Linked DNA regions of Homo sapiens: all the other regions are linked to region 3. The links are contacts of gene promoters, found by promoter capture Hi-C in human tissues and cell types (Jung and others, 2019). All regions are on one chromosome and are shown on one strand. Each heading gives the region's core, a stretch centred on a gene start or on the middle of the fragment in contact. The rest is flanking DNA. Distances are from core to core; before and after follow the strand shown.

Region 1 (3,028 bases), core at 52-2,551, 680 kb before region 3:
AATCCTGGAATGAACCAGGATATGCTTGACAGTGAGTCTTATGTTAGATTTTCCTGTCTCATAGATTTTTTTTTTTAACCTTCACATGTATTATCTCTCTAAAATGAATGGAGGCCTGGTGCAGTGGCTCACACTTGTAATCCCAGCACTTTGGGAGGCCGAGCTAGGAGGATCACTTGAACTCAAGAGTTCAAGACCAGCCCGGGCAACCCTGCCGGTTGGTGAAACCCTGCCTCTACAAAAAATACAAAAATTAGCCAGGCATGGTGGTATGTGCCTGTAGTTCCAGCTACTCAGGAGGCTGAGTTGGGAGGATCACTTGAGCAGGGGAGGCTGAGGCTGCAGTGAGCTATGATCGATCGTGCCACTGTACTCCATCCTGGGTGACAGAGCAAGACCCTGTCTAAAAATATACATTAAAAAGGCCGGGCACGGTGGCTCACGCCTGTAATCCCAGCACTTTGGGAGGCCGAGGCAGGCAGATCACCTGAGGTCAGGAGTTCGAGACCAGCCTGACCAACATGGAGAAACCCCATCTCTACTAAAAATACAAAAAGATTAGCTGGGCATGGTGGCACATGCCTGTAATCCCAGCTACTCGGGAGGCTGAGGCAGGAGAATCACTTGAACCTGGGAGGTGGAGGTTGCTGTGAGCCAAGATTGTGCCATTGCACTCCAGCCTGGGCAACAAGAGTAAAACTCCGTCTCAAAAAAAATAAAAAATAAAAAAATAAAATGAACGAAGATATTTATCTGCACTATATTTTACTATTAAAGTCTTTAAATAATGTAGTTTTTTTTAAATTTTAAGTTGTCTTCATTAAGATTTAATCCTTTATACACTTTTAAAAGTGTAAACTATACGAAATGTAAAATTTCAAATCTTAAGAGAATCTGCATCATAGCATGTCTGTCCACTGTATCTCACACTGAGGGGTATTTTCAGGAAAGAGTAGCATATTATAGATTGGGCGCGGTGGCTCACGCCTGTAATCCCAGCACTTTGGGAGGCCGAGGCGGGCGGATCGCGAGGTCAGGAGATCGAGACCATCCTGGCTAACATGGTGAAACCCCAGCTCTACTAAAAATACAAAAAAATTAGCCAGGCGTGGTGATGGGCACCTGTAGTCCCAGCTACTCGGGAGGCTGAGGCAGGAGAATGGCGTGAACCCGGGAGGTGGAGCTTGCAGTGAGCCGAGATGGCGCCACTGCACTCCAGCCTGGGCAACAGAGCAAGACTCAGTCTCAAAAAAAGAGTAGCATATTATAATACATTAGGGTTTGGATATAACCATTAAATGTAGTAGAATTTTTCAAAGATTACACAAGCTTTGAGGAGTAGTTTTCCTCGTATCAATTAAAACAGGAATCCATTTGCCCTGGGAATAGTAGAGCCTTTGAAGTTTGAAAGTTTTCTAGGGATATGCACACACACAAACTAATGTAAAAATAAAAATGCACCTGAGAAGTTAAACATATCCATCTCACACCATGAGCTTCTTTTGCCTGAAAGGAATAAAAATTCTATTTGGTTCCAGGATTTGCTTCTCTTACATCATATTTCTCAATCAACTTAAATTTTCAAAGACCAACAAACTAAAAATCCTACAGACTCATACAGGGAATAAAATTACAAAATGTTAAAGGAAACTGGAGTTAAAGTGCTGCAATATTCAATAGAAAAAGGAATCCAAAGGAAAGAAACACAAACATTGAATCAGCTCAGATAAGCAGCCTGCTTCTCCGCAATTCAGAAGAAAAACCAACATCCAGAAGGTTAAACACATACCAAAGCTTGGAGTCCACACTCTCTCCCTGTTAGGGTATAGTCCCTAGAGTGGAATAGTCCCTGGTGACAGCAGGGACACCTGAGCAGCCACAGGAATGAACTCCGGGAGCAGAGAATGCCCCTTCCCACTGGTTCTCGTAAGTGACGAAACTGTCAGCTGGATTCAGATGAAGGTTCTGACACAAATGAACTCCCAAAGTCATTAACACCATGTCCAGGAGACAGAACTTGTAACTTTCACAGACTTTTTCAATATGGAAAAATTACACCACGAGTGTACCCTAATGTGAAAGCAAAACTCAAACCTAATGTCTAAAAGTAGACCCAAGGAAACTACAATTACAACCTAGACAATTAAAACCCTCCCGGTTCTCCTAAAACCGCGTGCGGTTCCCAGCATTCCAGTGCTCTGTAGCTTCTCTCTGTATAAAGAGCTCTTTCCTTGGTGGGTGAGAGCAAGTAGGACACTTTTGGGGAAGGCTCCCCAGGAAGACCCATCTGGGCTTTCAATGACCTCCCTTTGCAGGCTCAAGAGTGGTCTTAGCTTGAAGTCACTAGTCTCTGGCTGCTGCTCCCCAGTCATGGGGCTTTCAACCGCTATTGATGTTTATTTTTTTGAGACAGGGTCTCCCTCTGTCACCCAGGCTGTAGCGCAGTGGCGAGATCATAGCTCACCGCAGCCTCGACCTCCAGGGCTTGGGCTTAAGTGAGCCTCCCACCTCAGCCCCCTGAGTAGCTGGGACTACAAGCACAGGCCATCATGCAGCTAATTTTTGTATTTTTAGTAGAGACGAGGGTTTCACCATGTTCGCCAGGCTGGTCTCGAACTCCTGACCTCAAATGATCCACCCACCTCGGCCTCCCAAAGTGCTGGGATTACAGGCGTGAGCCATCACGCCCAGTTGAAAGACGGGAACTTTCAAAGTTGCTTTTCTGGTAAAAGTTAAAGCAGAGGGGACTTTCTTTATCATGTTGGCTAAAACTGGCCTGTTGGGGATTTGACCAGCATCTCTTTCTCTCCTGATAATTTGTAAGGTCAGATAAACAACTTAGTTTCAGCTTGGTAGCGAGGAACGTCCCCGTGGGTAACTCATTTTGGTTTGGTCTGTTGGGTCTAGTGCAGGAGCTCAGTCTAAACCAATGGCTTCCTACAAATTGTATTTAACAGGGCAAATAATAATATTATGAATTGGAGAGGGAAAGCTTCATTTGGAATGAAAGAAGGAATTGGCAAATTTA
Region 2 (3,041 bases), core at 120-2,619, 550 kb before region 3:
TCTAGTTGCAGGAAAACAAGCTCAGGGCTCCCACTGATTCTATAGTATGGCGAGCTGTACAATTACATCATTATATATTACAATGTAATAATATTTAAGTGCACAATCAATGTAATGTACTTGAATCACCCCAAAACCATCCCCACTCCAGTACATGGAAAAATTATCTTCTAAGAAACTAGTCCCTGTGCCAAAAAGGTTAGGAACTGCTGGTTTAGATCACTGATACCTTATTGTAAGATGAAAATCCCCACCCACAGAAGAAAGTCACGGCAGCTTTCTCGTCGTGTTTTTTTTTTTTTAGATGGAGTCTAGCTTTGTCGCCAGGCTGGAGTGCAGTGACACGATCTCAGCTCACTGCAACTTCTGCCTCCTGGGTTCAAGTGATTCTCCTGCCTCAGCCTCCTGAGTAGCTGGGATTACAGGCATGCACCACCACGCCCAGCTAATTTTTATTTTATTTTATTGTTTTAGTAGAGACGGGGTTTCACTATGTTACCCAGGATGGTCTCGATCTCCTGACCTCGTGATCCGCCTGCCTCAGCCTCCCAAAGTGCTAGGATTACAGGTGTAAGCCACTGCGCCCGGCCCATTGTTTTGTTTTGAGATGGAGTTTCGCTCTTGTTGCCCAGGCTGGAGTGCTCACTGCAACCCCTGCCTCCTGGGTTCAAGCGATTCTCTTGCCTCAGCCTCCCAAGTAGCTGGGATTATAGGCGTGCACCACCATGCCTGGCTAATTTCGTATTTTTAGTAGAGATGGGGTTTCTCCATGTCGGTCAGGCTGGTTTCAAACTCCCGACCTCAGGTGATCCACCCGCCTCGGCCTCCCAAAGTGCTGGGATTACAGGCGTGAGCCACTGCACCCGGCTGGCCTTTTGAACATGTGTGGTATAAAGAGACATGTTTATGATTTGTGAACATCTGAAGTTCCTTTCTACCCATATTACAAACTTCCCCTTCCCATATCTAGCTGCTTAAAATTACCCAGCTTCCCACAGCTCTAGGAGGAGGAAGTATCTTCGGAGCAAGAGCTGACTCTGACCCCTTCTCCTTCTCTGGCCAGAAAATAAATCCTGCTTGCCTTTTTTTTTTGTTCCATTAGGTATTCTTTCTTTGTGACTCATACAAACTAGAGAAAGAACTCAGTTTACCAGTGACACTTGTATTTCATACAAATATGGGAAATCTTTATATTTTCAAATTCTAATGCCTTGGCTTTTGATTGGAGCATTTAATTCATTAATATTTAAAGTCTTGAAGGAGAGAGCATTTTCACACTGCGCAGAGGACACAGGAGGGCAAGTTGAGCTCCCTCATCCCTAAATCCTTCAGTGCCTCTGCCCCATCACCAGGTGCTGATCCCACTTGTAACTGGCAAAAGGGTCTGGCTGCTCACCGCGTGTGGAAAGAAGTCAAAATAATAATGAGTTGTGATAAGAGGGAACGAGATTTCTTTATTATCTGTCCTAGCAGGGGAAGAGCAGAAAGCAATTCCACTGTTCAATTTGTGGAGAGAACCCAGGGGTTTTTAAAGAAAGGGTTTGGAATGCAGAAGAGGCAAGCGGGGCTAGAGGTACCAGGTGGCGTGACTTGCTCTGGTTGCCCCTCTTGAATTATTGTCCCATTTGGTGAAGGGACTTCTCCGTCGTGGATCCTGCCAGGTTATACATTAGTTGCAGTCAATCTTGTAGTCTGTTGCGGGAACTAAGGGACCCCGAATGGAGGGACCGGCTGAAGCCACGGCAGAAGAACATAAATTGTGACGATTTCATGGACATTTATCAGTTTCCAAAATTAATACTTTTATAATTTCTTACGCCTGTCTTTACTGCAGTCTCTGAACATAAATTGTGAAGATTTCATGGACATTTATTAGTTCCCAAAATTAATACTTTTATAATTTCTTATGCCTGTCTTACTTTAATCTCTTAATCCTGTTATCTTCGTAAGCTAAGGATGTATGTCACCTCAGGACCCCGTGATGATTGCATTAACTGTACAAATTGTTTGTAAAACATTTGTATTTGAATGATATGAAATCAGTGCACCCTGAAAAAGAATAGAATAACAGCGATTTTCTGGGAACAAGGAAAGATAACCATAAGGTCTGACTGCCTGTGGGGTTGGGCAGAATAAAGCCATATTTTTCTTCTTGCAGAGAGCCTATAGACGGACATGTGAGTAGGAGAAATATCACTGAATTCTTTTCCCAGCAAGGAATATTAATAATTGAGACCCTTCCAGGTGTGGTGGCTCATGCCTGTAATCCCAGCACTTTGAGAGGCCGAGGCGGGTGGATCACAATATCAGGAGATCGAGACCATCCTGGCTAACACGGTGAAACCCCTTCTCTACTAAAAATACAAAAAATTAGCCGGGCATGGTGGCACGCGCCTGTAGTCCCAGCTACTTGGGAGGCTTAGGCAGGAGAACAGTGTGAACCCAGGAGGCAGAAGTTGCAGTGAGCCGAGATTGTGCCACTGCACTCCAGCCTGGGGGACAGAGCGTGAGACTCTGTCTCAAAAAAATATATATAATAATAATAATTGAGACCCTGGGGAAGGAATGCATTCCTGGGGGTAGGTCTATAGATGGCTGCTCTGCGAGTATCTGTCTTAATGCAGTTGAGATAAGGACTGAAATACGCCCTGGTCTCCTGCAGTGCCCTCAGGCTTACTAGGATTGGGAAGTTCCAGCCTGGTAAATTCTAGTCAGACTGGTTGTCTGCTCTCGAACCCTGTTTCCTGTTAAGATGTTTATCAAGACAGTGCATGCACAGCAGGACACAGACCCTCATCAGTAATTCTAATTTTGCCTTTGCCTTGTGATCTTTTATTGCCCTTTGAGGCATGTGATCTTTGTGACTTACTCCCTGTTCGTACACCCCCTCCCCTATTAGAATCCCTAATAAAAACTTGCTGGTTTTGCAGCCCAGGTGGGCATCATGGAACCTGCCGATATGTGATGTCACCCCTGGAGGCCCAGCTGTAAAATTCTTCTCTTTGTACTCTTTCTCTTAATTTCTCAGATGGGCCGACACT
Region 3 (3,348 bases), core at 255-2,754:
CACGCGCCACCATGCCCAGCTAATTTTTGTATTTTTAGTAGAGATGGGGTTTCACCATGTTGGCCAGGCTGGTCTTGAACTCCTGACTTCCTGATCCGCCCGCCTCGGCCTCCCAAAGTGCTGGGATTACAGGCGTGAGCCACCGCGCCCGGCCCTAAACTCTTTAATTGTTAACGTACCTCAGTTTAATTTTTAACAGAAAAAAGTGGGCACTGGGGACCCCAAAGACCGCTACTCCTCCCACACGAACCTGTCAGAGATGATAAATTACTTTTCTAAAAGCTTTAGTAAGCTGTTCTTTGTTTCTTGAGACCGACTTCCTTGTCTCCTAGCTACCTGTTCTGTAAACAACCTTCCCGCTTTTGCCGCGCCCAGACAAGTCCAGATACGCCTTCCCGCCTAGTAACGGACAGTCCCTGTTCCTTCCCGTCTCATAGACCCTATTTAATTTGTGTGTGTGTGTGTGTGTGTGTGTGTGTGTGTGTGTGTGTGACGGAGTTGCCCAGTTGTCTCGCTCTGTTGCCCAGGCTGGAGTACAGTGGTGCGATCTCGGCTCACTGCAAGCTCCACCTCCCGGGTTCACGCCATTCTCCTGCCTCAGCCTCCCGAGTAGCTGGAACTACAGGCGCCCGCCACCATACCCAGTTAATTTTTTTGTATTTTTAGTGGAGACGGGGTTTCACCGTGTTAGCCAGGGATGGTCTCGATCTCCTGACCTCGCGATCCGCCTGCCTCGGCCTCCCAAAGTGCTGGGGTTACAGGCGTGACCCACCGCGCCTGGCCAGACCCTATTTAATTTTAAACCTTAGCCTATCGAGTTAGTTTAGATTGTGAGGTCCAACCCTAGCCAATGAGGAAAGGACACAGAAGTGCTAGAAACTGCGTTAAGGAGAAAAACCCCTGCCCTACCCCGCTCGCTGTGCTCTTGTGACTGGCGCAAGCTGCACCCTTGTGTAGAAATAAATTTGCTTTGCTGAGGAATTTTCTGCCTAGATGCTGGTTTTCTTTGCGGCACCGGGCACTTGTTTCTAACAAACCCCATATCCGAGGCGGGATCCCCCCATATCCCTCCCGTGGCCCCCGCATAATGTGGGGAGACGCGGAGCTGCCCAGATTAGGCTCCGGAGCCGGGGCCGCAGTCGCCGTGAAGGGACGGGACAGGAGGCCCGGGGTCCCGGCTGCCGGCCCAGCCCCACCCTGCGACCGAGGGGACTCGCGTCCACGACCCCGGAGTCGCCGCGTGGAGGCCCGGGTCCCGCCTCAGCCGGTTCCGGCCGATTCCAGCCCCTCTCCCAGTCGCCCGGACGCCAGCCCCCTCACACACACCATTTCTCGGCTTCCAGGGTGTTCCGGCGTCCTCTGCGTGGCTCCCGCGACTAGTGTAGGTCACAGTGCAGGTTACAGAGCGACAGAAGCTCTGGTGGAGGCACCTAGTCCCTCTCGAAGCAAGAAAGCCGAGATCCTGACCGCTGTCGGCGCAGCACTAAAGGAATGGACGGAGGGCGACTGTCCCTTCCCCCTTCCCCGGATGGACAGTTGACAGGGCCCCGCCCCAGCACCCCTGATTGGATGGGGCGCCAGGCCCCGCCTCCTCCGTGCTGAGTGACAGCAGAAGCCCTGGGTAACCGGGTCCTGCAGATCATGTCTGACTTGTTCTGGCCACAGCGTCTCTGAGCGAGCAGCCTCTCTAAGCGAGCAGCCTCTCTAAGCGAACAGCCTCTCTAAGCGAGCGCCTTCCTTGAGCCCTGGTCATCAGATATTTGCATTTCAAGGCGACTTGCTCCTTATTGTTAGAAGAGGCACTGTTAGCTTCCTCATTCAAGGGGCTGTCCCTGCTCCTTCCTTCTGCACGGGATCACAAGTGTGTGCAGGGCATTTCAGACTCAGTGTTCAATGGAGAGATACGCTTGCCTCAGAGCAGGAGGGGAGCCCAGACCAGGCAAGGCACGACTGCACCAGGAGAGAGAGGCAGATGTCTTCCAGCGTGCGGGAAATGGGATGAGGCATGGCCAAGGCTTCCTCACACTGCTATGGACTCCAGCAAGGTTTTCCTTGTAAGGGAGCTAACCAAGCCAGAACTTATTAAAGATTTAGAGGCTCTCAGTACTATGTATATCTATCCCTGGTGCATTGACAGTGACTGAAGACCCATTTTTCAGGACATGCTGTGTAGGACTGAGCCAGGGAACATGATATAGCATGGCACTTTTATCTCACATATAACCCCCAAGGAGCAGGGTTAACTGAAATGAAAGATGGTCTCAGGGGAAGCTGTAAATGAGAAATTCTGTCATAGAAATTATGATTTAGGCAGGCCGGGCGCGGTGGCTCATGCCTGTAATCCCAGCACTTTGAGAGGCTGAGGCAGGTGGATCACGAGGTCAGGAGTTCAAGACCAGCCTGGCCAACATGGTGAAATCCTATCTCTACTAAAAATACAAAAATTAGCCAGGAATGGTGGCGCATGCCTGTAATCCCAGCTACTTGAAAGGCTGAGGCAGGAGAATTGCTTGAACCGGGAGGCAGAGTTTGCAGTGAGCCAAGATCGTGCCACTGCATTCCAGCCTGAGACACAGTGAGACTCCATCTCAAAAAAAAAAAAATTATGTTTTAGCCATCTTTTTTTGAGACGGGGTCTCACTCTGTCGCCCAAGCTGGAGTGCAGTGGTGCGATGGCTACTCAATGCAGCCTCAACCTCCCAGACTCAAGCAATCCTCCCACCTCAGCCTCCTAAGTAGGTGGGACTACAAGTGCCTGCCACCATGCCTGGCTAGTTTTTTATTTTTGGTAGAGATGAGGTCTCATTCGGTTGTTCAGGTTGATCTCAAACTCCTGAGCTTAAGTGATCCTCCAGCCTCAGCCTCCCAAAGTGTTGGGATTACAGGTGTGCGCCTGGCCTCTTGGGCATCTTCATTGCTCCACACCTTACAATGATAAATTCAATATTCTGTGAATATTTCCTGGAGAAATTAGCACAGCCATAACTTGTGATAAGGTAAATCAGGTGTTGAAATTTGAACATTCCTGGAAACTTCATTTAATAAACCTAATTTTGCTTATGTGTGAAAGTATTCATACATATTCATTGTTCAGACACAGATAACCATGGCAAGATGAGGTGCTATGAAAAACTATGTTGGGACAACAGGTACTATCAAGGATTATCACTGGCAAACCGGGACACATGGTCAGATGATTTCTGAGGCAGTTTTGTACCTTATGTAAAGGTAGAAAGTGTTGGAACTAGAAGACATCGAGCTGGAGTCAGTTGCAGAATTGATGCTTTGCTTGGCATGTGGGGGACACTTCTCAAATATTTGCATTTGGTCACAGAAGTATTCCGTGTT
Region 4 (3,290 bases), core at 57-2,556, 520 kb after region 3:
TAGCAATTTTTTTTTTCTGAAAAACCCAGATGTTGTGGCCTCTGCAGGACTTAAGGTGTCTGTTGAAACTACGCAGTTCTATTGGTGTAGCCCAAAAGCAGCTGTTCACAATCTCCAAATAAGTGAGCACGGCCATGTTCCAATAACACTTTATTTTGTATTATTATTTTTTAAATAGAGATGGGGATCTCACTATAGCTGGTCTCGAGCTCCTGGCTCAATGGATCTGCCCACCTCGGCCTCCCAAAGTGCTGGGATTACAGGCATGAGTCACCACAGCCGGCCTTAATTCTCTTTAAAATGTTACAAGTGAAGAGGAGGAGTGATATTTCATTTCCTTCTCTTTCCTGGCAGCTTTTCCTTAGACTATGCTACAATGAAGACAATTACTTCTTTTTATGTTTTTATTCTTTTATTTTTTTATTGAGACAGAGTCTCGCTATGTTGCCCAGGCTGGAGTGCAGTGACACAATCTCGGCTCACTGCCAACCTCTGCCGCCCAGGTTCAAGCAATTCACATGCCTCAGCCTCCTGAGTAGCTGGGATTATAGGCACGTGCCACCACGCCCATCTAATTTTTTTGTATTTTTAGTAGAGATGGGGTTTCCCCATATTGACCAAGGCTGGTCTTGAACTCCTGACCTCGTGATCCACCCGCCTTGGCCTCCCAAAGCGTTGGGATTACAGGCATGAGCCAGCGCCCCCGGCCTGACAATTCCTTAGCAATGTACATTTCGGGTTACTTTTACGGTAAGGAAAAAAATGTGACAAATTTAAAAGATCAAGAAAATAACCCTTTCTCCTGGCCTTCCCAAACAACTTGGTCGGCTACAGGATTTGACTTAGAGCCAAGCTCTTCCATCACCCACCTGGGCTCCCCCAGATCACACTCATCTGTGCTGGATTTCACCAGCTCTCGGTTGATGGAGGTCCCCACGCTCCCTGCTCCTCCTCCTCCGTCTGCCCTACATCCCTCCTGCTTCTCCAGGGAACCACAGATCTCGATGCCAATTTGGATCAACTTATTTCTGTCTTTCAGGGAGCTGACTGTGGAGGAAGGGCTGCAACAAACCAGGGGCCTGGATTGTGACATACTTACAGCCACGAAGCCATTGAGTAAAGATAACAGTTTCTTCAAGGAAGAATACGGAGTGTGGATTTCAGCCATGCTGAACAGACTGGGGCACCCTGAACATTTAAGTTAACATCTTCCTGAACCTCTGGGCTACTGTTTCCCAAGATGATAGGGATCTGAGGAAGGGGCGCCAATGCTGACTTGCTCTGCCCCTCTGTGTCCTGGCTGCCTGATGGTTGTCCAAGGCGGCCCAGCAGCTGCCCCCTGCCCTGGTCATAAGCCTTTTATCACATCACAATTGGGTTCTGGAGCAAGGCTCATGGTCCAGGGAAATCAGGTGCCCCAAACTGCCCCCTGTTGGCTCCTCATCCTTCAAACAGGTCACAGCAGGGAAAGAGAACAGGCATGGTATGCTACCCTGGTACCCTCCAGATGCCACCAGGACCCTGTGGGCATAGTGCCCAGAGCTAACCACTTGCACAGTTGACATCTCCTAGTAGACTGGGGGATCCAAGCGGGGGAGGGGGGAACTTGGGCTGTCCTATTAACAGCTGTGACCCCTGCCAGGCGCAGTGGCTCACACCTGTAGTCAAAGCATGTTGGGAGGCGGAGACGGGCGAATCACCTGAGGTCAGGAGTTTGAGACCTACTAACAATACAAACAATACAAAAATTACCTGGGTGTGGTGGCACACGCCTATAATCCCAGCTACTTGGGAGGCTGGGGCAGGAGAATCACTTGAACCCAGGAGGTGGAGGTTGCAGTGATCTGAGGTCGTGCCATTCCACTCCAGCCTGGTTGACGGAGTGAGACTCTGTCTCAAACAAAACAAAACAAAAACAAAAACAGCTGTGTCCCCAAAGCCTGGCACTGCAGTACTTAAGAAACCCGCGGAGAATGAATGAATGGATCCAGAGGCTCTGTGATGCAGAAATCTAGCTACAAGCCACCGGGCCTCCCAAGCCCAAGCCCATACTTGGCCCATCCTTCATACAGGGCTCAGAGAGGCCAAGGGAACTGCCTGAGGCCACACAGGAAGCAAGACCAGGCTTTGAAGCCCCAAGAGTAACATGAGGGCAGGAACCTGTAAGGCAGAGAGTCCTGGAACTGTGAGCCATTGGTCACTGGGTTTTTTTCTTTTGAGACAGGATCTTGCTCCATTGCCCAGGCTGGAGTGCAGTGGTGTGATCATGGCTTACTGCAGCCACGACCTCCCTGGCTCAAGTGATCCTCCCACCTTAGCCTCCCAAGTAGCAGGTCATTGGGCTTTTCTCCATGGTGATAGATGTAGTTAGCATTTCAGGACCAAAAACCTTCTGTATGTCAGCACTGAAGACCTCCAGGCCTAGATCCTGCAGTCTGTAGCCCACTTTGCCCCCATACCTCCCCACCCTAACCATAGCAGCTTCACATTGCCCCACCCCGATCCCCTCTCTGTCCAGCCCTGGGCTGGGGTGTGTCTGGGTCCAGGTCCTGCATGGATTGGGGGAAGGCGGATGGTTCAAATGGGAGAAAATACCTTACACTTTAATTAATTTAATGAATGTCTGTCAAATCGCCTGCTTCTTGGAACATGTAGAACTAAGCAAGATGTTCACAGAGGAGTGCTGTCTCCTCCTGGACCACGGGTGCTGTTCACAGCCAGGAGTGTGTCCTTCCACACCTTTATTTAAGAGGTCATTTGAAGCCAGGCGCGGTGGCTCACGCCAGTAATCCCAGCACTTTGGGAGGCCGAGGTGGGTAGATCACGAGGTCAGGAGATCGAGACCATCCTGGCTAATGCAGTGAAACCCTGTCTCTACTAAAAATACAAAAAATTAGCCGGTTGTGGTGGCGGGTGCCTGCAGTCCCAGCTACTCGGGAGGCTGAGGCAGGAGAATCTCTTGAACCCGGGAGGCGGAGGTTGCAGTGAGCCGAGACCACATCACTGCACTCCAGCCCGGGAGACAGAGGGAGACTCCTCCGTTTCAGGAAAAAAAAAAAAAAAAAAAAAAGGTCATTTGAAGTAAGGAACCTCAGAACCAGGGGCTGAGGGCCTGGAAATGGGGGCACAAAAGAGGGTGATAAATGGGCATGCAAGAGAGCATTGGAAAATGTAGGGGGCAAAGGAGGTCTGGGAAATGTGGACTCAAGGGAAAGCAGGAAAATGGGGGTGCAAAGGAGGGTGCAGAGAAGGGGGACGCAAAGATGCGAGATGGAAACTTGGCTGCAAAT

What was found. The method cuts DNA at HindIII sites, captures the fragments that hold promoters and counts their contacts. A contact is called where the count stands out against the background at its distance.
Region 1: a fragment that was not itself captured here is called in contact with the fragment with the promoter of ZNF440 in region 3 in 2 of the 25 tissues and cell types used here (dorsolateral prefrontal cortex and pancreas).
Region 2: a contact is called between a fragment that was not itself captured here and the fragment with the promoter of ZNF440 in region 3, in 1 of the 25 tissues and cell types used here (spleen).
Region 4: a contact is called between the fragment with the promoter of TSPAN16 here and the fragment with the promoter of ZNF440 in region 3, in 1 of the 25 tissues and cell types used here (bladder).

What each region holds. Positions count from the first base shown.
Region 1 is chr19:12,496,051-12,499,078 of GRCh38, reverse strand. No RefSeq gene overlaps it. Among named protein-coding and RNA genes, the nearest start is that of ZNF709, 13 kb to the right of the region's middle. RefSeq lists an enhancer at 2,797-3,028. The HindIII fragment of the contact is 4,297 bases long and covers 1-3,028 here.
Region 2 is chr19:12,367,165-12,370,205 of GRCh38, reverse strand. It overlaps a transcript of ZNF442 not described here. Among named protein-coding and RNA genes, the nearest start is that of ZNF442, 3.0 kb to the right of the region's middle. The HindIII fragment of the contact is 4,297 bases long and covers 1-3,041 here.
Region 3 is chr19:11,812,429-11,815,776 of GRCh38, reverse strand. ZNF440 (zinc finger protein 440) reads right to left here and starts at 1,504. Exons shown (of 4, transcript NM_152357.3): 1 at 1,327-1,504. The coding sequence starts at 1,329. RefSeq lists silencers at 1,100-1,169, 1,590-1,669. The HindIII fragment of the contact is 18,958 bases long and covers 1-3,348 here.
Region 4 is chr19:11,294,176-11,297,465 of GRCh38, reverse strand. TSPAN16 (tetraspanin 16) reads right to left here and starts at 1,306. Exons shown (of 7, transcript NM_001282509.2): 1 at 1,100-1,306. The coding sequence starts at 1,168. The HindIII fragment of the contact is 22,007 bases long and covers 1-3,290 here.